Linked DNA regions of Homo sapiens: regions 2, 3, 4 and 5 are each linked to region 1. Evidence: promoter capture Hi-C in 16 types of primary human blood cells and fetal thymus (Javierre and others, 2016). All regions are on one chromosome and are shown on one strand. Each heading gives the region's core, a stretch centred on a gene start or on the middle of the fragment in contact. The rest is flanking DNA. Distances are from core to core; before and after follow the strand shown.

Region 1 (3,876 bases), core at 439-2,938:
CGGCAGGGTAACAACAAACTAATTCAGTTTCCCACTATATAAGAACTACATTTTACTACAACACTCATATTTCTAAACTGACTAAGAGTCAAGGCTTGTCCAAATTCCATGGCTTACTGAGTGGTCTTGAACCTTCTCTGAATTTTGTTCCTTAGTCTGTAAAATGGAGTTATCACCTGTTATGCAATATCACAGAGTTGTAATGAATCAAGTAACATTATCTTAGTATGGGTTCACCTGTCACCCTATTGTGGGGTGCAGTTCAGTCGCACACCTCATGAACTAAGTAACTATTATTACTGTAAATGTCTCCCTAACATTTAAGACAGAAAAAGATTTCCAGAGTTCTTCTTACGTTTTTAATCGACTTCTCCAACACTTGAGCATCCACCAAATATCACTGCCAAAAATGTGCTGAACATCTCCTGTTATGACCTCACTCTCCTATGTAGTGTTGTTCACATATTTTTTGCCATAAGCTTTCTAAGAAAATAGATTATTTTTCACATGATTCAAAGCATCTTTCTTTCATATTGAAGGAGCAATAATTCCTTATGCAGAAAGTTTACAGGTTGTTGTTGCTGTTGTTTGAGATTACTCCTCAATTAATTAATTCTATGTTTAATATCTAATAGAGCATATATATGTACACTTGGACACACTCCATTAATACAGTGGAAAATCCATGGACTATAGAGTCAGGAAAACCTATATTCGAATTCCTGTTCTGTGACCTTGAGAATGTAATTTAACTTCCCTGCTCCTCAGTTTCCACATTTGGTTCTGGATTATGATGATTTAATAAAATACGATATATAAAAGTAAGTGCCTAGGCTATGAAGGTATTATTTCCTACCTCTCCTAAATCTTTTCTTTCTATGCCAGGATCAATCAAACCCACCCAGAATACAAGGCAACTTTCATAGGGTATCTTTTACATCAGTCGAGGGAACGCTGCGATGTGATATAAGTGGATGATGGCATGAGTCAGGCATCCAACAGAGCAAGATGTGGAGAAAGTGAGAGGTACCTACAAGGGCCCTAGACTTCACTCGCATGTGCGAAAAGGGCATTTTGATACCCTTTCAAGAATGCCCCGCATACTCGCGGAGGCTTATACCACGATGTGGGAAAACGACGGAATTACAGAATAAACCAGCAGGGAGCCTCCTCGTTCACCCAACCCGACCCCGCCCGCCCGAGTCTCCCATCTGGAGCCTAAAAACTGAGCTGAGATCACAGCAACTGACCCCGTCCCCTCCGCCCTCTCCCTCCCCCATTCTGCCCAAACCTCTCAGGGCACGAATGGTGCTGAATCATTTGCACGAACGCAGCAGCTCCCCGTTCCGCGGCTCCCAGCGGGGACGGTGTCCCCAGAGCAGTGACAGTCCGGGGATGGGGGCCCGGAAAGAGGGCCAGGGCGGAGCCTTTGGGGACGTGGGGACATGGAAGGGGGTCGGGGGAGGATGGCGGCAGCAGGTACTCACCCGGGTGAGGAAAGCCCAGCCCGGGTCCTCGCGTCCCCGCTGCAAGCGGTCCCCCAGGTGCTCCCGCGCCTCGCAGCTTCCCCGTGGGCGGCCGCCCCGACTCGGCAGCCTGCACTGGTGGTCCGGTGCTCTCCTCCGCCCGCCCACCGCCCGTGGCAGCCACGGCTCGGGACTCCGGTGCTCGACGCGGAGTGCCTGGAACAGCTGTCGCTGCCCAAGCGGGTGGCGGCTACCGACGGGCCAGACCATTCGCCTGCTGCGGCCGGGGGTGCACGACGTGCCGAGAGGCGCGGGCGCCGGGGGCGGCGACGGTTGGGAGGAACAAAGGACTCGGGGAATCCTCTGCCCCCTCGGAGTCAGGAGGTCCTGGGGACAGGAGGGATCAACGGAGGGGCCGCTGCCTCTTCTGGGGGTTTACTGAAGACACTGCTCGAGCTTTCCCGGGCCACACACACCCCCCCCCCGTTTGCCTTGGTCCCGCTCGGGGCTCCTTTAGAACGCGGCAAACAGAGGACTTAGCAACGCGAGCGCCTGGGCGGCGCCCCTCCTCAGAGATGCGAGAGGCGCTGGCCTGAGCGCCTCCGGCCACCTCCTTCTACCTCCGGGCCCTAGGCGCCCGATCCACCTGCCTATCTGACCACAGACATCTTCCCACAAAACAGTGGAGCTTTTTGAATCTTTGAAGAGAGTCTTCAGATCTTTTATCTAAGCATCTTTGTGAAGCAAAGAATAAACGGGTATCTGAGGCCAGCTCGAAAGTTAGGAAATAAAATCAGGTGGGGCCCCATCCCGTAGATGCTGAGGGACAGCTCTGACCTAGAGTTCCTGCTAAGCAAATGTTGAACCACGGCAGTTGTAAAAAAATGTAGATTTAGGAAGCCATTTCGAGATAAAGATTTACAGAAGATTGTTGCAGAAATTAAAGAATATTCGAGGTTCATTGTTCACCATTTTAGAGTTGCGTGTCTTGAAAACGGGAAGGCAATCATGTCTTCTCATAAAATGAATTGTATAGAACTGGAAGAAGTCCTAACACATGAATTCCTTAGACTTTTGTGGTCCCTGCTTCTGTCACGCTGGGTTCACACAGGTTCATTTCAGAGCATGGTGAAGATCAGGACAAGTGTACAGTTTTCCCTGTAGAAAAAAAGAAAAGATAGAACAGAATTGGCAACTACCTATAAAATGTGATTAAAGGTAGGAAAAAAAAAGGCCCTCCAAGTGCATCCCAAAAAATATAAAATTTCACAATTTAAAGTTTTGTCCTTCGTTGAGTAAATCAACATAAATTCAGCACTTTCTATAGACCACTGTGCTGAGAATAGTCTCATTTTCATTTCTTCATTTATTCTTCTAAAAACTCCTGTGAGATTGGTAACCTGCAATAGACCTCCATACAGCCTTGCCAGCATTGGGAACTGATCTGGTCAGTGAGGGCATCTTCTCATAAAGGACACTGGTGAGAAACTGGGCTCAGGGTTTGTCGTGCTGGGTTAGTCTCACGATCATAAGCGGCAGAGCAGACATTGCCACCTGGAGTTTTTGACTTGTTCCTTTCCCCTAGAATGCCTCTGAGAACGATATACATTAAACCGTGTCACATCTGTGATTGCAACTTGAATGTGAGTCTGTTTATCCTTCCTTTGTGAGAAGGGGTTTTAGAATGGAGAGGGGGCAGTTAGGTGTCCAGGGTAGGCATCACCCTGAGGCAAGAAGAGTGATCAGAAAGAAGAAGCTGGACTTCACCCAGAACTAGCCGAACATCAGCGTCACAATACACTGTCAAGGTCACATGAGGTTGAAGAGGAATTCTCCACTGCCTTCTTGTTAATCATCTTTACATCATTATTTTCACTGTATTACACTTTACACTATGCATGCACTATTACTACATTACATGTTATCATTCTTCCATTCCTAGGAAGGGGCAAGAATTTTTCAATAAACCTATTATCATGGGTCCTCATATACCTTATCAAAAAAAATGTTAAGTAACAGAGGTATTAGCAACACTTAACGTCACCTCAAGAAAGCTTTTTGAGAAATCAGGAATAAAATTAAATTGTTTCTGTATGATATGATATTGTTACTATGTTAATGGTTGTTGTAAAGATTCACACGTCAGCAGCAGCAAAACAGAAATCCCCAAAGTTGCATGTTGCCGAGGAGCAGGAGCATTGGGTCCCCAGTGGCCAGACTGGCCTCAGGCTCAGAAATGTGTGATTCTTCTCTCCATGTGCAGTTGTTTCACTTTCAAAGGCAACAACAGGAACAGAACACATGTAGATGAGGCGTCTTCTGAGTTAGTGCTTTATGTCAGATGTTAGATGATAGGGATATAGAAAGGAATTTAGAGCCTTATGATTTGTGGTGCGGATGGGCCAGTGAC
Region 2 (3,876 bases), core at 1-2,500, 800 kb after region 1:
ATATACAACAGGTTAATTTCCTTAAACACATCCATACTTGAATTGAAATCAGCCTAGGGTTGGGTGATACTTACCCACTGTACTGTATTAGTTTCTCTGGGCTGCTGTAATAAATCATCATAAACCAGGTGGCTTCAAACAACAGAAATTTATTCTCTCACCATTTTGGAGGCTGGGATTCCGAAATCAAGGTGTCAGCAGGGCCATGACCCTCTGGAGTCTCTAGAGGTGAATCCCTCCCTACCTCTTCCAGCTTTTGGTGGCTGTTGGCATTCCCGGGCTTCCTTGGCTTGTGGCCACATCACTGCTATCTCTAGCTTCATGTTCACAGCACCTTTGCCTCCACGTGTCTCCACTTTTCTTATAAGGACGGTTGTCATTGGATTTAGGTCCCAGTCAGGTATTCCAGGATAATCTTATATTAAGATTCTTAACTTCATTACATCTGCAAAGATCAATTTTCCAAATAAAGTAACATGCACAAGTTCTAGGGATTTGGAGGTAAACATATCTTTTTAGGGGCCACCATTCAACCCACTGCACCCACAAAAGAGCTACCTGTCACTCCCATGAGTCATGGTAACGCCCAGAGGTGGTGTCTGGGAAGCTAACTGCCTTGCCATCAGCAATGCTGCTGGAACATGCTTCGTTCTATTTATAGCGGCACTATCAATGCCCTTCAGATGATGTGTCTCACAGTCCATGTCCCCAAGTTCACATTCTACTTTACTGAGTTTCTTTATCTCCTCACAGAAGCCTGCAGCACCCCCACCCCACTCCCCTGGACTGCATACTTCACCCAATTATGTTTTGCATATAGATAGATAGATAGATAGATAGATAGATAGATAGATAGATAGATGTATATTTGTGTATATACATATACATATATATGTGTGTATATATATATGTATTTTTTTTCTGATTCTCTCCAAAGACATTTGAACTTGATAGATAGAATCCTGCATTCTTTCAATCTGTTAGGATAATTAATTCTTAGGGCTATTAAAATGACATCCAGTTGAATTCTGGCACCTCTCTTATGGCTTTGCCTGACTAGTTGGTCACACTTCTGAGGTCTTTCCACTGTTTCAAACAGCTGGGTAAGAATTCTTTTAGGGCTTTCGGCAACTGTTGAAAAAGGAATACCAAAGAACCAATCCTGACAATAGGTCTTTGCTTAAAGGAGGTAGAATTGTGAAGTGATAAAGAAACTCAATCCCAGCACTTTGGGAGGCCAAAACAAGATGTTTGCTTAAGGCTAGAAGTTTGAGACCAGCCTGAATAACATAGTAAGACCCCCATTTCTAAAAAAAAAAAAAAAAAAGATTAGGCATGGTGGCCCATGCCTATAGTCCTACATCCTCAGGAGGCTAAGGCAGGAGGATGGCTTGAGCCCAAGAGTTCAGGGCTGCAGTGAGCTATGATCATGCCACTGCGCTCCAGCCTGGGTGACACAGTGAGACAGAAAGAGAGAGAGAGAAAGAAAGAGAGAGAGAGGAAGAAAGGAAGGAAGGAAGGAAGGAAGGAAGGAAGGAAGGAAATAGTAAGACCCCCATTTCTAAAAAAAAAGAAAAAGATTAGTCAGGCATGGTGGCCTGCATCTGTAGTCCTACCTCCTCAGGAGGCTAAGGCAGGAAGATGGCTTGAGTCCAAGAGTTTGAGGCTGCAGTGAGTTATGATCATGCCACTGCACTCCTGCCTGGGTGATACACTGAGACCCTGGAAAGAAAAGAAAAGAAAGAAGAAAGAGAAGAGAAGAGAGGGAGGGGGAGGGAGGGGGGATAGAGAAAGAAAGAAAGAAAGAGAGAGAAGGAGGGAGAGAGAGAGAAGAAAGAAAGAAAGAAAGAGAGAGAGAAAGAAAAGAAAAGAAAGAAAGAAAAAGAAAGAGAGAGAAAGAAAGAAAGAAAGAAAGAAAGAAAGAAAGAAAGAAAGAAAGAAAGAAAGAAAGAAAAAGAAAGAGAAAGAAAGAAAGAAAGAAAGAAAAAGAAATTTATATATACCTATATATGCTGTGTGGTTTGGGAAAATCACTTAACCTTTCTGATCTGGTGTACTGGTGTACTCCTGTCTATACAACGGAGGTAACATCACTCCAAGTTACTTCATTGGGTTGTGATAATTTAAAGAAATGATGCTTGCAGAATGCTTCCCACAGTGCTCAACTTATAAGCACACGATAAGTGTTAGTGATTAGAATACTTGAATTTGGCCAGCCATAGTGGCTCACGCCTGTAATCCCAGTACTCTGGGAGGCTGAGGCAGGTAGAGCACCTGAGGTCAAGAGTTCAAGACCAGCCTAGCCAACATGGTGAAACCCCGTCTCTACTAAAAATACAAAAAACACTAGCTGGGCGAGGTGGCAGGTGCCTGTAATCCAGATTCTCAGGAGGCTGAGGCAGAAGAATCTCTTGAACCTGGGAGGCAGAGGTTGCAGTGAGCCGAGATGGCACCACTGCACTCCAGCCTAGGTGACAGAGCGAGACTCCATCTCAAAACAAAACAAAACAAAACAGAATACTTGAATTTGTGTGCCTAGAGTAGTTGTTCAGAAGAGTGTTCCCATTCTCTCTTAGGGACTATATGAACACAAATTCAATGGAAAGAGACAGTACAGTATTGCACACTTTAAAATATGTTAAGAGGATAGATCTCATGTTAAGTGTTCTTACCACACACACACACACACATGCACACACACAGACAGACAAGGAACACCAGGAAATATTTGGAGGTGATGGATATGTTTAGTGATTTGATTGTGATGATGGTATTACAGGTGTATGCATATGCCCAAGCTCATCAAATGTGTACATTAAACATGTGCAATTTTTTGTATCGATTATACCTTAGTAAAGCTTAAAAAACAAATCCAGAAGATGGAAATATTCCTTAAAAGGAGGTTCCCTCCTGTATATTATACATTCATTCTTTATTATTTATATCCAAATATTTACAGAACACCTACTATCTGCCAGGCTGTTCTAAGTGCTTGGAATAGATCACTGAACATAAGAGGCAACAGTCCCTGCCTCATGGAGCTTAGGTTCTAGTAGGGGGAGCGTTTTAGAAGATGATAAGTACTATGAAAAAAATGGAGCAGAGGAAGGGGGAAGGTCAGAACCAGGAGTGGGGTGGGTTACAATTTAGATAGGATGGTTGGGGAAAGTCTCATGTAGAAGGAGGCATTTGGGTACAGATTTGAAGGAGCTGAGGAAGTAAGCCATGTGCAGATATATGGGAGAGGAACCAAGAGCACAAGGGCCCTGAGGCAGTAGCATCCCTGGCATGTTCAAGGACAAGCAAGAGGATGATGTAATGGGAATGGTGTGAGTGAGGGGGAGAGTAGAAGGAGGAGAGGTAAAGAGGTGACGGGGTAAATCGTGAAGGTCGCTGACATCACTTTAATAAGATGGGAAGCCACTGCAAAGTTCAGAGTGGGGAGTGACATGACTTGACTTGAATTGTAAAAGGCTCACTCTGGCTGGAGTGTGGAGAATAAATGTAGGAAAGAAGGGTAGGGGCTGGAAGACCAATGAGAGGGTATGCAGGAATCCAGGCAAGAGATCAAGGTAGCGCAGACCAAGAAATAGCATGGGGGGCTGTGAGAAGTGGTCAGATTCTGGTTTTACATTAAAAAGAAACAAGGCAGTTTGTTGACATATTGGACAAAAAGTGTGAGAAAAAGAGAAGTGAAAGAGGAGTCTAAGATTTTTGACCGGAGCAATCTAAAGAATCGTGTTACCATCAACTGAGATGGGAAAGACTGAGGGTAGAGTTGTTTGGGGGCAGGAAGAAATGTATGTGAGCTGTTTAAGTGAAATTTTCTACATGAGTTTGGAGTTTGAGAGGGAGAGGTCTTGGCCATAGATAGAG
Region 3 (3,876 bases), core at 571-3,070, 780 kb after region 1:
AGACCAGAAAGGACTCTCCAAGGGTAGCCACCTAGGTGCATGCTTCATCCCCAGAACCACATGGGCACAGAGTGGTGCAGAAGAAAGAACAGCAGGTTGGAATCAGTCAGTTTACACGTTTGCAGAGTCCCATAAAAAACAAAACAAAAACAAGAAGGCAAAGTAACCAAACCGCGCAATCCTGAGCAAATAAGTCAGCAGTCCTCCAAGCCTCAGGGTCCTTATTGTAACAATAGGAGCAGTCTTGCTAACCTCTGTCCGCTGTTTTCAGCGGCGATGACACCCCCATGAGAATATGCTTCTTGCAAAGGATTTCCTTCATCTCTCCCCATAAGAAAGGAGGAAACAAGATGAAATGCATGGTGCAAAGCCCAATGCCTATCTGCTGGATGTGAAATGCCTGCATGCTATAAAATCACTCTGGGGTTTACCCACGCTCTAACAGTGGTTGTGTGTGTTGACTATTCTCTGTCCTCAGCCAGCCTACCGGAGGCAAAGTATGGTGACTGGAGGACATCTCTGCAGGCAGAAGCAGCACTGAAGGCACCTGGAATGAAGATGAGTGGAAAACATCTCAGTAAACACAGCACTATTCATGATAGCCTAGATGTGGAAACAACCTAAGTGCCCATTGATGAATGAATGGATAAATAAATTGTGATATCTATATATATTACAATATCCCTACAATGGAATACTATTCAGCCTTTAAAAAGGAGATACTGCTATTTGCTACAACATGAATGAACCTGGAGTACTTTATGCTAAAAAGTAAGACAGATACAGAAAGAAAACTACTGCATGATCTCACTTGTATGTGGAATCTAACAAAAAGTCTAATACATAGAAACAGAGTAGAACAGTGGTTACCAAGGGTGGGGAGGGGAAAGAAATGGGGAGTTTGTCAGAAGGTACAAAGTTATGTGGGAAGGATAAATTTAAAAATCCAACATACAGCAGGAGGACTATAGTTAATCATACAGTCTTGTATATTGAAAAGTTGCTAAGAGACTAGATTTTAGGTGCTCTTACTGAAAACAGGGTAACTAGAGAAGGTAGGGAAGGTGATGAATACGTTAATTTGCTTACCTGCAATAATCGTTTCACTATGTATATCAAAACATCATGTTGTATACCTTAAATATATACAATAGAAAATAAATAATAAAATAAACACAGATTAAAAAATAAAAACAACTCAAGATACAAATGTACATATGGCTGGCTGTAGATGTAGTTACTGGCTAAGGCATGGATTCTGAGCCAATCCCTTTGAGTTCAGATCATGGCTCTTCCACTTTCTCACTGTATGTTCTTCAGTGATGGCATCTTTTTTAATGGCTTAGGAATTTTTTAAAGTCCTAAATTAGGTAGTTTTAGCTGGTAGATCCGTGGATATGTCTTGTTCTTCTTCTTCACTCTTTGTAAATAGGGGATAATAATACCACCTACCCCAGGGTTATTGTGAGATTTAATAAGTAAATATGTACACACAGAGAGAGGCAAAGAAAGACAGAGCAGTTGGAACAGTCCCTGACAAGCAACTTTAAAGTGTTGGCTATTATTATAAGGGAAGGGCCAGGTAAATGCTGGTGCTTGACACTTATTTACTTAAAAAAGAGAAAAGAAAAGAAAAGAAACAAGTCATACCCAACATCTACCAGCTTAAACCACCTAATTTAGGGTAAAAAAAAATTCCAGACAATGGAAAAGATGCTGTCTCTTAATTATTCAGGGAATGGCTTTTCTCTAGGAAAGGCAATCTGAAATGTGTCCTGGCAAACCAACTCTTCGGCTAAAGACACATGGTGGCTCTTGGTTGGGCGTGGATTAAAGCGCAGCTCCTCCCGCTTTCCAAACTCAGAAAGGAGGAGGAATGTTAAGTGTGGCTGCATTGTCATTAATTAATTTCTCAAGGGCTGCAGTAATCAGGAAGCTCATTAATGTGTTTTAGCCTGCCTTTCATTTAGAGAATGAGTAGGAAATGTAAATGGAGTGCACTTAGAAACCTTAAAAATCGTTCAGTGCTGTAGTGCGGGGGGAGAAACCATGGTATGTCTCTAAGGAAAAGCAAAAACCCACAAGGGCTTCTTTAATCACATGAAAGAGAAGCAATTCTAACTCAACAGCAGCAGAGGCTCCCCGTGGCGTTTCAAAATATTATCATTTGGACTTGGTTGTTCCTCTACTCTTGTGCCATGTTTAAAGACGCCACGCTCCATCCATATTTATACTTCTCCCAGCAGGGAGCATAATTGTGAAGGGCAAATTCCAGGGGCCAGAGCTCCGCGGGGCCATTCCACAGGGTGCTGCCAGGAGCTCCCCTGGGGTATTCATTAGGAAAGGCGGCGCAGAGGAAATCAGGTCTCCACGGCTCCCCCTAGCGGAGGCTCTGCTGTTGGGCCAGGTTGGGGGCGGGGCACCAGCAGCTTCTCTAATTCTTCAAGGCCAACCTAGGGCCATACATGTTCTCCTTCATTCTGCTCTTGACCGCCCCGGAGGAGGTGCCTGAAATTGAGCTCATTCCTTCTCCTCTGTGAAGTCAGCGTGTTTCAGAGGCCTCCTCTCACAGACGTGGACCAATTCTTCCCTTGCAATTCCTGTTAAATGTATACATAAAGCACTTAGAACAGGAGGCAGTGTTCTGTCATTCTCATTGTGATTGTTAGTGCTAGCTAGTGGCAGACAGTGGGCCACCCGGTTTTGGGGGGTGTTTACCCCTCCAGTTTCCACACGGGGCTTCCTGACAATGATCACTAAACAATTCGTCACACGACCAGCCATAGAATCTTGAGTTGTGACTCAAACCTCCCTCTGTCCTATGTCCACATCCTTATCTTTGGTAGATGCAGGTCTCACTTTTACTCTCCTCTCGATGTGAGAGGGAGGGGCTGGGCCTGAGTCCACATACACCCTCTCTAGTAGGACGTGCCTCTGGTGGGCATGGACATGAGCCTACAGGAAGCCAAGTTTCTTCTGACCAGAAAAGGGAAGCCAAGTAATCTATGTCTCTCCCTGGGGAGACCAGGGAACAAATAAGCCACTTAACACTTATCCTGCCCCATCTTACCCCGCCCCCACCTCTCCCAGGGGACCTTGCATACATGACCCTCTCCTATGACCCCAACCGAACTTTCCTCTTCAGTTCAGTTCAACAAACGTCTATTGAACACCATGTGCCAAGCCCTATGCCAGGTGAGGGGATCCAAAATGAATAAGACGTGTTTCCATTCTTAAGGAACAGATTAGGGAGTAAGTCAAACCCAGAGGCATTATTCCAACAAATGGGAGTACAGAGGGGGCTGGAACTCAACCTAGGCTTCCTGGAAAGGAAGGGAGCCTGAGGTTGGCCTTGGCAGACATGTGGCAGGTTCCCCGGGACTGGAGAGTGGTGGGCATAGGACAGCGTGGCAATGTGCCTCCAAGGTGAGCACGGTACTTGGCACACAGTAGGTGGTCAGCACACGCACTGAGCTGATAGATGGAGCAGGTAGCCAGCAGTCAGTGCTACTGGTGCGTGAACGCTGGCCTGTGGGGGTTGATGGCGCTGAAGAGGGTCTGAAGCCCGAACCTGAGGAGGGCCTTGAGTGCCAGGCCCTTATCTTATAAGACCTTACCCTACAAGAGTTTGAAGCAAAAGAGTGACATAGTCAGATTTACATCTTCTTTGCTCATTATTCCACTACCCTAAGGAAGCCTCCTGAGAACTTTGAAGAGTTGCCCTCTAAGATCACAGTCTCATGTGACTGGTATTGCAAGCAGCTACTCTCCAGCCATATTATAATCGTGGTGCTCCTTCAGCCAACAAATGGGCTAACTAGATAGCTAATCTTGAGATACTCGGTCGACAGTTTATAGGGTGAAATGTTCAGTCTC
Region 4 (3,876 bases), core at 685-3,184, 750 kb after region 1:
GAATGCTCAGTGTGATTTGAGCTTACTGATAGCAGAGACCATGCTTGTCTATCATTGGATCCCCAGCAGCTACCAACATTCTTTGCACTTACTGGGCGCTTGTAAATGTTCATTGAATGAAAGAATTAATCAATGAATGACAAGCTGGGCATTACTTGGTTCTATCAAATTTAATCATGCTTCCACGGTTTCACAATCTACCTTTGGAAGTGAAAATGTGCGGCATGCCTCACATTCCATCAATAATGCAAAGGCTTCTATGAGACACTAGGGAAGTAGAAAACAGTGGTTTATTGAATCAGACTAAAATCTGTTAGTGGCAGAAGTACATATTTGCAAACAACTCTAATAAAATGACCTGGAGGGACTTTAAAAGGCTCCACAGCTTTGTGAGGCTCTGGGTGACTCCCTGGCAGAAACATTCCGTGGCACTTTGACTTGTATTTTCCTGCCCGATGAGGCACATTACTCAGAGAGTTGACATAAACTTCCTTTGGCCAGCCATGGGAGGACGTGTGCACACACGCATAATGGGATGGAGAATTGAGAATGTGTTAGTGCCACTCCAAAAAAGACATCTGCTTTCAAAAATGTTTATGTTTAGCACAAAAATGTATTCCATGGAATTATGGCATGCATTTACATATTCATGGGCCTTAGAGGATATCCAAGTTTAAATTAGGAGCTTTCTCTTCAATTCTATCAAAGCTTGGAATTGCCATGGGAGTATGGCACCAATACTCTGGCAAGGAAGTTTGTCCCCTGAAGCCTCTCAGAGAAGGATCACCCAGCAGGGCTGCCACTATTCACACATAATGCTTGACCTATAAAAGCTTTCCCTTATTATGCAATGCACCTTAATTATTTCCATTCTATTCTAGTCCATTTCTTTAAAATGCTGGTCACATTCACTATATTGATTACCTGACCCACTAATGGACTGTGATCTGTAGTTGGAAAAATACTGCAGTAGAAAAATGAAGAGTGACCCCAAACTAAAGACTCTAACAGGAAGCCACAAAGACTGCTTGGAAGGTTTGGGAATGTTGTAGTCAAATCCATACCCAGAATGTGCTTATCAAGTGTGGCTTGCAGCTCGTGATCTGGGATGCCAGGCTGTCTGGATGCACTATGGCGGCAGTATCATGGGCTCACAAAATGGGGAGAAGGGATGGGAGATGGCTTTGAATTCTTTCTCCTTTAGCGTGGTGTTCAGGAACAAGCCACCTCTCTTAGCTTGGAGGGGAGGCTCATAGAGCTCTGTCATCCACAAGGAAATCTCCCATCCTTTGAGAGGAAATGCAAATGTCATCATCCCTTTCCTTGATGGGTCCTGTAAGGGTCTACTTTCCTTGACCCTTACAGTTGAAAGTCCTCTTTTTTCTTAACCCCTAGGGCACATAATTTATTTCTCACTTTGAGTACCTAACACTTTCTAAACTATGCTTTCAGCTTTTTTCCTTTATTGACTGTATGTAGCATCAGGACTATGATGATGTCCTACTCATTTTGTATCCCTGTGTCTAGTATGTGCCTTGCACATATCAGGTGCTCAATCAGCATTTAGGACATACACAAAGAGGCCAGAGAAATGCTTTGTCTTATAACATTATCCCTCTGTATCCATGGAGAATTGGTCCCAGGAACCGCCCTCCTCCCCACCACCACCCTGCAGACATCCAAATCCTCAGATGCTCAAGTCCCTTATATAAAACGGTCTAGTAAAATAATGTGTGCACATGGATACAGAGAGGGGAATATTAGATATTGAAGACTCTGAGGGGTGGGAGGGTGGGAGGACATGAAGGATGAGGATTTACTTAATGGGTACAATGTCGCTAAAAACCCAGACTTCACCACTATACAACATATTCATGTAACAAAATGGCATTTATAACCCTTAAATATATAAAAACAAAATAAAATGGTGTCATATTTGCATATAACCTATACATATCCTTCCATATACTTTAAATCATCTCTAGATTACTGTATACCAAATATAATGTAAATGCTATATAAATAGTGGATGTACTGTATTGGTTTTTTATTTGTATATTTTTTATTGTTGTATGGTTATTTTTTATTTTATTCTCAAGAATATTTTTGACCCAAAATTCATGGATGTGGAGCCCATGGATAAGAAGTGCCACCTGTTCTCAGAACTTGAGAATGATTTATCTTTGAGATGATGTCACTAGGATTCTGCAGGAGGCTCACTTATCAGCATTGGTATTCCCACATATCTTACCTTCTTACTCTTCTCCTTCTCCCTCCTTCTCCTTCTCCTTCTTGCTCCTTCTCCTTCTTTTTTAGAGAAGAGTCTATGTTGCCCAGGCTGATCTCAAATTCCTGGCCTCAAGTGACCCTCCCACCTCAGCCCCCCAAAGTGCTGGGATTACAGGCATGAGCCACCTCTTACCCTGAGCCTGCCCATTTTCCCATGCATCCATCCTCCCATCCAGCTCTTATTGAGAACCTGCTGTGTTCCTGTGCTAATCGTGGTGGTTACTAAGGTGGGTAGGGCAGTGCCTGCCTCTAGATCCCAAGTCTAGTGAGGCAGAAGAGAAGTGAGGGGGTAATGACCACAATGTGAGAAGCGCTATAAGGGGGGCAGTGGCCCACGTCTCCCAACTCATGTCACAGTGCAGTGCTCTCTCACCATATGCTTTTTGACTGCTTCTCTCAGACTTCTTTTTTTTTTCTTTTTTTTTTTAGATGGAGTCTCTCCCTGTCGCCCAGGCTGGAGTACAGTGGTGTGATCTCGGCTCACTGCAACCTCCACCTCCTGGGTTCAAGCGACTCTCTCCCTCAGCCTCCCAAGTAGCTGGAATTACAGGCGCCTACCACCACGCCTGGCTAATTTTTGTATTGTTAGTAGAGACGGGGTTTCATCATGCTGGCCAAGCTGGTCTTGAACTCCTGACCTCATGATCCACCTGTCTTGGCCTCCCAAAGTGCTGGGATTACAGGCGTGAGCCAGCGTGCCTGGCCTCTCAGATTTCTTAAACTCTGCCCCACCAGCAAAGATTTTGTTAAGCTTTATATCCCATAGTTTGTATTAGGAAAACAATAGCTGTGTTAAAAAATTAAATTGTTATAATATTGAATATGCATTTTCTAAGTGTTCACGTGTCTAAAGCAACAGGTGATACAGTGGGAACTGCAATACGGTGTGAAAAGGAAATTATTTAAACAAATAATAATAATCGAATTATCTTCAAGACATTTCCTTTGGCCAGGAATAACATCTGAACAGAAGCGTGACCCTGGCCTAAAGGTTTCTGCATGATCCGGTCCCTACCTGCTCATCCCTGGCCACAACCTCTTCCCTCATTGTGCAGCAGCCCTGGTGGGCTTCGCTGTCCCTCTTCTTCGTACACTCTTCACCTATCCCTTCCAGGTCCACGGCCCTTCTTATCCTTCAGGTCTCAGCCTAATAAGTCATCAGACAGGTCTTCTCTGACGACTTTGCAAAAAAGCTGTTGCCCACCTTAGTCTCCATCCTAGGAGTCTGATCTTTTCCTTCATAGACCTAATCACAAAGTGTAATTATTTCATTTGTTTGGTTGTCTCTCTTGCTAGACTGTGAACTCCACAAACTGTTCACCAGCCTATCCCCAGAGACTCGCATGGTTTCTGGCACATGGCAGACACTATAAATACATTTTGAATAAATGCATGTTAGGGCGGCTCACAGAAAGCATCTACTTGAAAGGGAGGACATCTCACCAGCGGGGGACAGCGCTGCAGAACCCAGCAGCGGAACAACAGCGACACCAAGTGGCCAGTCCGCATTACCCACAGCAGCTGTTCCTTGCCAGAAATCTCAGGCCTTGGAAGGCTGATGCTTGTAATTTAATGTGGATACTAATC
Region 5 (3,876 bases), core at 976-3,475, 640 kb after region 1:
TCCTGAAAAGCATGCATATGTCAGAAAGGTTCCCAGTATAAAAGTGTATTTTCCCAGATGGCTCATGATGGACCACATGCTCAGCTTGGAGAGAAAGAGGAAATTTACAAAAGCATAAAACGTGGTTCTGTTTTTCTCAGGGACCTTAGTTAAGGCAGAAAAATAAACTCATACAGCAACTGCAAATGAAAGAACTTCGTACCCACACACCCAAACACCAGGATTGGTGCATTAGTCTCCTAAGAGCCCTTCTTGCCCCCAGATCTGTTTCCCTTAGGTCATTCTCAGAACTGCCAAGTGAATTATTATTTAAAGTGTGAGTCATCTTTTTACTCCTCTGTATTACATCCTTCAGTGTTTCCAGGAAATGCCTTCAGGATAATGCCCAAGCTCCCCTTGAGGGATCAGATTCCAGACTATCTTGCTGGTCTGGTGTCTGGTCCCCTGCTTTGCCTTTTATGCTACCCAAAACCCCACTGTGAGTGGTGCCCTGGACATATCCCTCCTGGTTCACTCCTACTTATCCTTTAAGATACAGCTCAGGACACAAAACCATCCTCCCACTCTCATGAGGTACTGAGGAGTTCCCCTCTGCTGCACTCTCTCCAGGGAGATATCCACTCAAGATACAATCAATTACCTGGGTGTCTCCTTTTATACTGAGTTCATGAGGGCTCGGGACACAGCAGGTACTCAATAAATATTGGTTAAATTAACTTAGGAAATGCAGAGGAACCCTCCTTAAAGTTACTAATGACCACAATACTGCCAGCGTTTTTCTATATATTGTTTTCTTTATAACATTTGAACTTCCTTGGAATTCTCTCCTTCCTAAGGGTGGCTTTTTTTTTTTTTTTTTTGAGACAGGGTCTTGCTCTGTCACCCAGGCTGGAGTGCAGCGGTGCTATCACCACTGCACTGCAGCGTCAACCTGACCTCCTGGGCTCAAGTGATCCCCGCTTCAGCCTTCTGAGTAACTGGGACTACAAGCACACCACCATGCCTAGTTAATTTTTGTATTTTTTATAGAGGGAGGGTTTCACTATGTTGCCCAGGCTTGTCTCAAACTCCTGGGCTCAAGCAATCCACCTGCCTCCGCCTCCCAAAGTGCTGGGATTACAGACAAGAACCACCATGCCTGGCCTTGATATCTTCTTGATATTGACTCTCAACTCTCTGTCTCTTCACTCCATAAAAGAGCCTTTTCTTCCATATTTGCCTTTTCTTTTTTCTTTTTCTTTTCTCTTTTTTCTTTCTGAAGTAGAGACAGGGTCTCACTCTGTTGGCCAGGCTGGAGTGCAGTGGTGTGATCATAGCTCACTGCTGCCTTGAACTCCTGGGCTCAAGCAAACTTTCTGCCTCAGTTTCCCAAGTAGCTGGGACTATATGCATGTGCCACCATACCTGCACATTTGATTTTTGAATGCCAGTGATACCCAAGTCTCTACCTTCTGCTTCTCATTCTACCATCTGTCTCTTTTTTGTGACCTCATGTATGCCCCTAGCTTCAACAGCCACTTATGTATTGGCTCTCAGATCTCAATATCTATCCCAGACCTCTCTGTTGAGCTCCAAACTTATATATCCAATTGCCAACAGTAGGCATTCACATGGGTAGGCACTGCATACCTACCTGAGGAACCCTAATAAAAACCCAAGTTCATCCACACGAACTTGAATGGCTCAGAGACCCTTAAATTCAATATGTCCAGAACAATTCATTATCCCTGTGTCAGGGGTCCCTAAGATCACCCTTAAGCTTGATGAACTCACATGAACTAGAAAGACTCACAGGACTCAGAAAAGCTGTTATACTTATGGTCATGATTTATTACCGCAAAAGGTTACAGATTAAAATCAGCAAAGGGGCAGGCACCTGAGCAAAGTCTTGGAAAAAGCAAGCACAAACTTCCAGGTATCCTCTCCCAGTGGAGTCACAGCAATATGTGACAATACATGTGAAGTGTTGCCACAGAAGTTCACCCAAGACTTGGTGCTCAGGATTTTTATTGTTTTTATTGGGGGTCATCAGGTAGGTATGCAGTGCCTACCCAGGTGACTGATCTCAGCTACTCAGACTCCAGCCCACAGGCAAAAAAGGCATTCACCATAAATCACATTGTTAGGATAAACTTACCTAGTCACACCGGTACAGCATGGCCCGAGGCCTCAGGCATGCAAAATCACTCTTAGCAGGCAGAATGTGTAAGACTCAGAGGTCATTTTCCAGTCCTGAAGACAGACCTTTGCTGGGTTAACACACAGGCAACCCAGGTCTGCTGACTAGACTATTTCCTGCTCAATCCCCTAAAGCTGTTCTTCTGTAAGCCCTTTCATCCACCGCTATCTGAGCCAGAGATTGTTTTACTTAACACCGACATCCAATCAGAGTCTACCTGTAGGAACATGCATTCCTCTCAATCACTTCTTGCTTGGATTACTGCAACCTGGTATCATCTCCACTTTGCTTTCTTTTCAGCAGTTCTCCATATGGAATTAGAATTGTGATAAATGCTATGACAGAAGGATATGCAGTTAAAGCATTTGTAATAAATGCTTTAATAGAGGTATACTCACAATGCTATGACAAGGAGAGAGAGGGAACACTCTGGGTCACAGTTGTGCTTGACCAAGCACATCACTAAGCCTTCAGGGTAAGTTCAAAACTTCTTGAATCTGAGACCCTTTTAACCTGGCTCCTCTCTACCCCTCCCACTGTTCTCCCACACCACTTTGTTCTTACAAAGCTATTTGTAATTTCCCTGGAGGTCATTTGGTTTCATACCTCTGATCTTGTATGTTCTGTTCCCTCTTCAATACTTAACTCAAGCATCCTCTCTGACCTCCTATTCCGCAGGCTAAACATGCTTCTCCCCCTCTTCCCTGCCTCAGAGCCCTCCAAAACCTTTATTGGAGCACTTACTCAGGTGCCTTAAGTGGCCCATTGGCTTGTTTGCCGCAGTAGTTTGTTAGTTTCTGAGGGCAATGGCCAAGTCACCTTCCATGTTAGAATCCCAGCACCTAGCATAGCAATCCTAATAAGTACTCAATAAACATTTGCTGAATGAATAAAAGGGAGAAAGTTCAATTCTGAGAGCAGAGTTGTGACTGCCTCCCCACAGAGTCAGAAAAAGCTTTATAGATGTAAGAACCATTTAAGTTGATATTGAAGGAAAATAAAATTTCATCAATTTTTTATTTGCACATAACCAAAATTGTATTGAAAAACACCAAAATAGGAGATCACTGCTGCATACCTTACAAAATCAAACACACTTACTTATCTTGGTAGATGAACCAGAATTACTGAACTTATGATAAGCCTTTCTGGGACATAACAAATTCAGGATGTTGTGTGGATCATTAGTGTTGCTTTCTTTTAAATGAACACTCTTCTGTGAGCTTGGTGTTTCATCCTGTAGGCTGGCACAACACTGTTGAAGAACCTACACAAAGATCCACTGTCTGAGTGTAACTGCCAAATGGGTTCATTTTGCCCACTGCCTATATAGAACCAATTTATCAAGACAGAGGCACTGCAACACAGAAAGAGTTTAATTCACACAGAGGCAGCTGAACAGGATACTGGAGTCTTATTTTTACTCAAATCAGCATCCCTGAAAATTTGGAGGCTAGGGTTTTTCAAGGATGGTTTGGCAGGCAAGGGAATGGGTGCTGCTGATTGGTTGGGGGTGCAATCAGAGGGGTGTGCAGAATTTGCTTCTTGGTGGGGCCACAGGACTGGTTGGCAGGTCCAAGTGGAGCCATGGTAGTCAGAAATACAAAAGCCTGAAAAGACATCTCAGAAGACCAATCTTAGGTTCTACAATAGTGATGTTATCTGCAGGAGTAATTGGGGGAAGTTGCAAATCTTGT

What was found. The method cuts DNA at HindIII sites, captures the fragments that hold promoters and counts their contacts. A CHiCAGO score of 5 or more calls a contact.
Region 2: a fragment that was not itself captured here is called in contact with the fragment with the promoter of TTLL7 in region 1 in 1 of 17 cell types (total B cells); the score reaches 6.8 in total B cells.
Region 3: a contact is called between a fragment that was not itself captured here and the fragment with the promoter of TTLL7 in region 1, in 1 of 17 cell types (erythroblasts). The highest score is 6.9, in erythroblasts.
Region 4: a fragment that was not itself captured here is called in contact with the fragment with the promoter of TTLL7 in region 1 in 1 of 17 cell types (total B cells); the score reaches 5.6 in total B cells.
Region 5: the fragment with the promoter of LINC01555 here is called in contact with the fragment with the promoter of TTLL7 in region 1 in 14 of 17 cell types (non-activated CD4 T cells, activated CD4 T cells, naive B cells and 11 more); the score reaches 11.2 in non-activated CD4 T cells.

What each region holds. Positions count from the first base shown.
Region 1 is chr1:83,997,444-84,001,319 of GRCh38, forward strand. It overlaps TTLL7 (tubulin tyrosine ligase like 7), which reads right to left and starts at 1,689. Exons shown (of 21, transcript NM_024686.6): 1 at 1,488-1,689. LOC124904205 (a long non-coding RNA gene) reads left to right here and starts at 1,845. Exons shown (of 2, transcript XR_007066195.1): 1 at 1,845-2,263. RefSeq lists silencers at 1,349-1,478, 1,489-1,588. The HindIII fragment of the contact is 3,041 bases long and covers 478-3,518 here.
Region 2 is chr1:84,797,157-84,801,032 of GRCh38, forward strand. LOC102724892 (a long non-coding RNA gene) reads right to left here and starts at 522. Exons shown (of 3, transcript XR_426717.3): 1 at 75-522. The HindIII fragment of the contact is 3,211 bases long and covers 1-2,856 here.
Region 3 is chr1:84,780,278-84,784,153 of GRCh38, forward strand. LOC102724892 (a long non-coding RNA gene) reads right to left here. Exons shown (of 3, transcript XR_426717.3): 3 at 729-2,600. Among named protein-coding and RNA genes, the nearest start is that of SSX2IP, 92 kb to the left of the region's middle. RefSeq lists enhancers at 2,070-2,159, 2,200-2,279, 2,470-2,519. The HindIII fragment of the contact is 4,206 bases long and covers 1-3,876 here.
Region 4 is chr1:84,749,953-84,753,828 of GRCh38, forward strand. No RefSeq gene overlaps it. Among named protein-coding and RNA genes, the nearest start is that of SSX2IP, 61 kb to the left of the region's middle. RefSeq lists a silencer at 3,693-3,742. The HindIII fragment of the contact is 2,207 bases long and covers 832-3,038 here.
Region 5 is chr1:84,632,795-84,636,670 of GRCh38, forward strand. LINC01555 (long intergenic non-protein coding RNA 1555) reads right to left here and starts at 2,226. Exons shown (of 3, transcript NR_027379.1): 1 at 2,138-2,226. LOC124904206 (a long non-coding RNA gene) reads left to right here. Exons shown (of 5, transcript XR_007066196.1): 4 at 2,480-2,654. The HindIII fragment of the contact is 1,375 bases long and covers 1,758-3,132 here.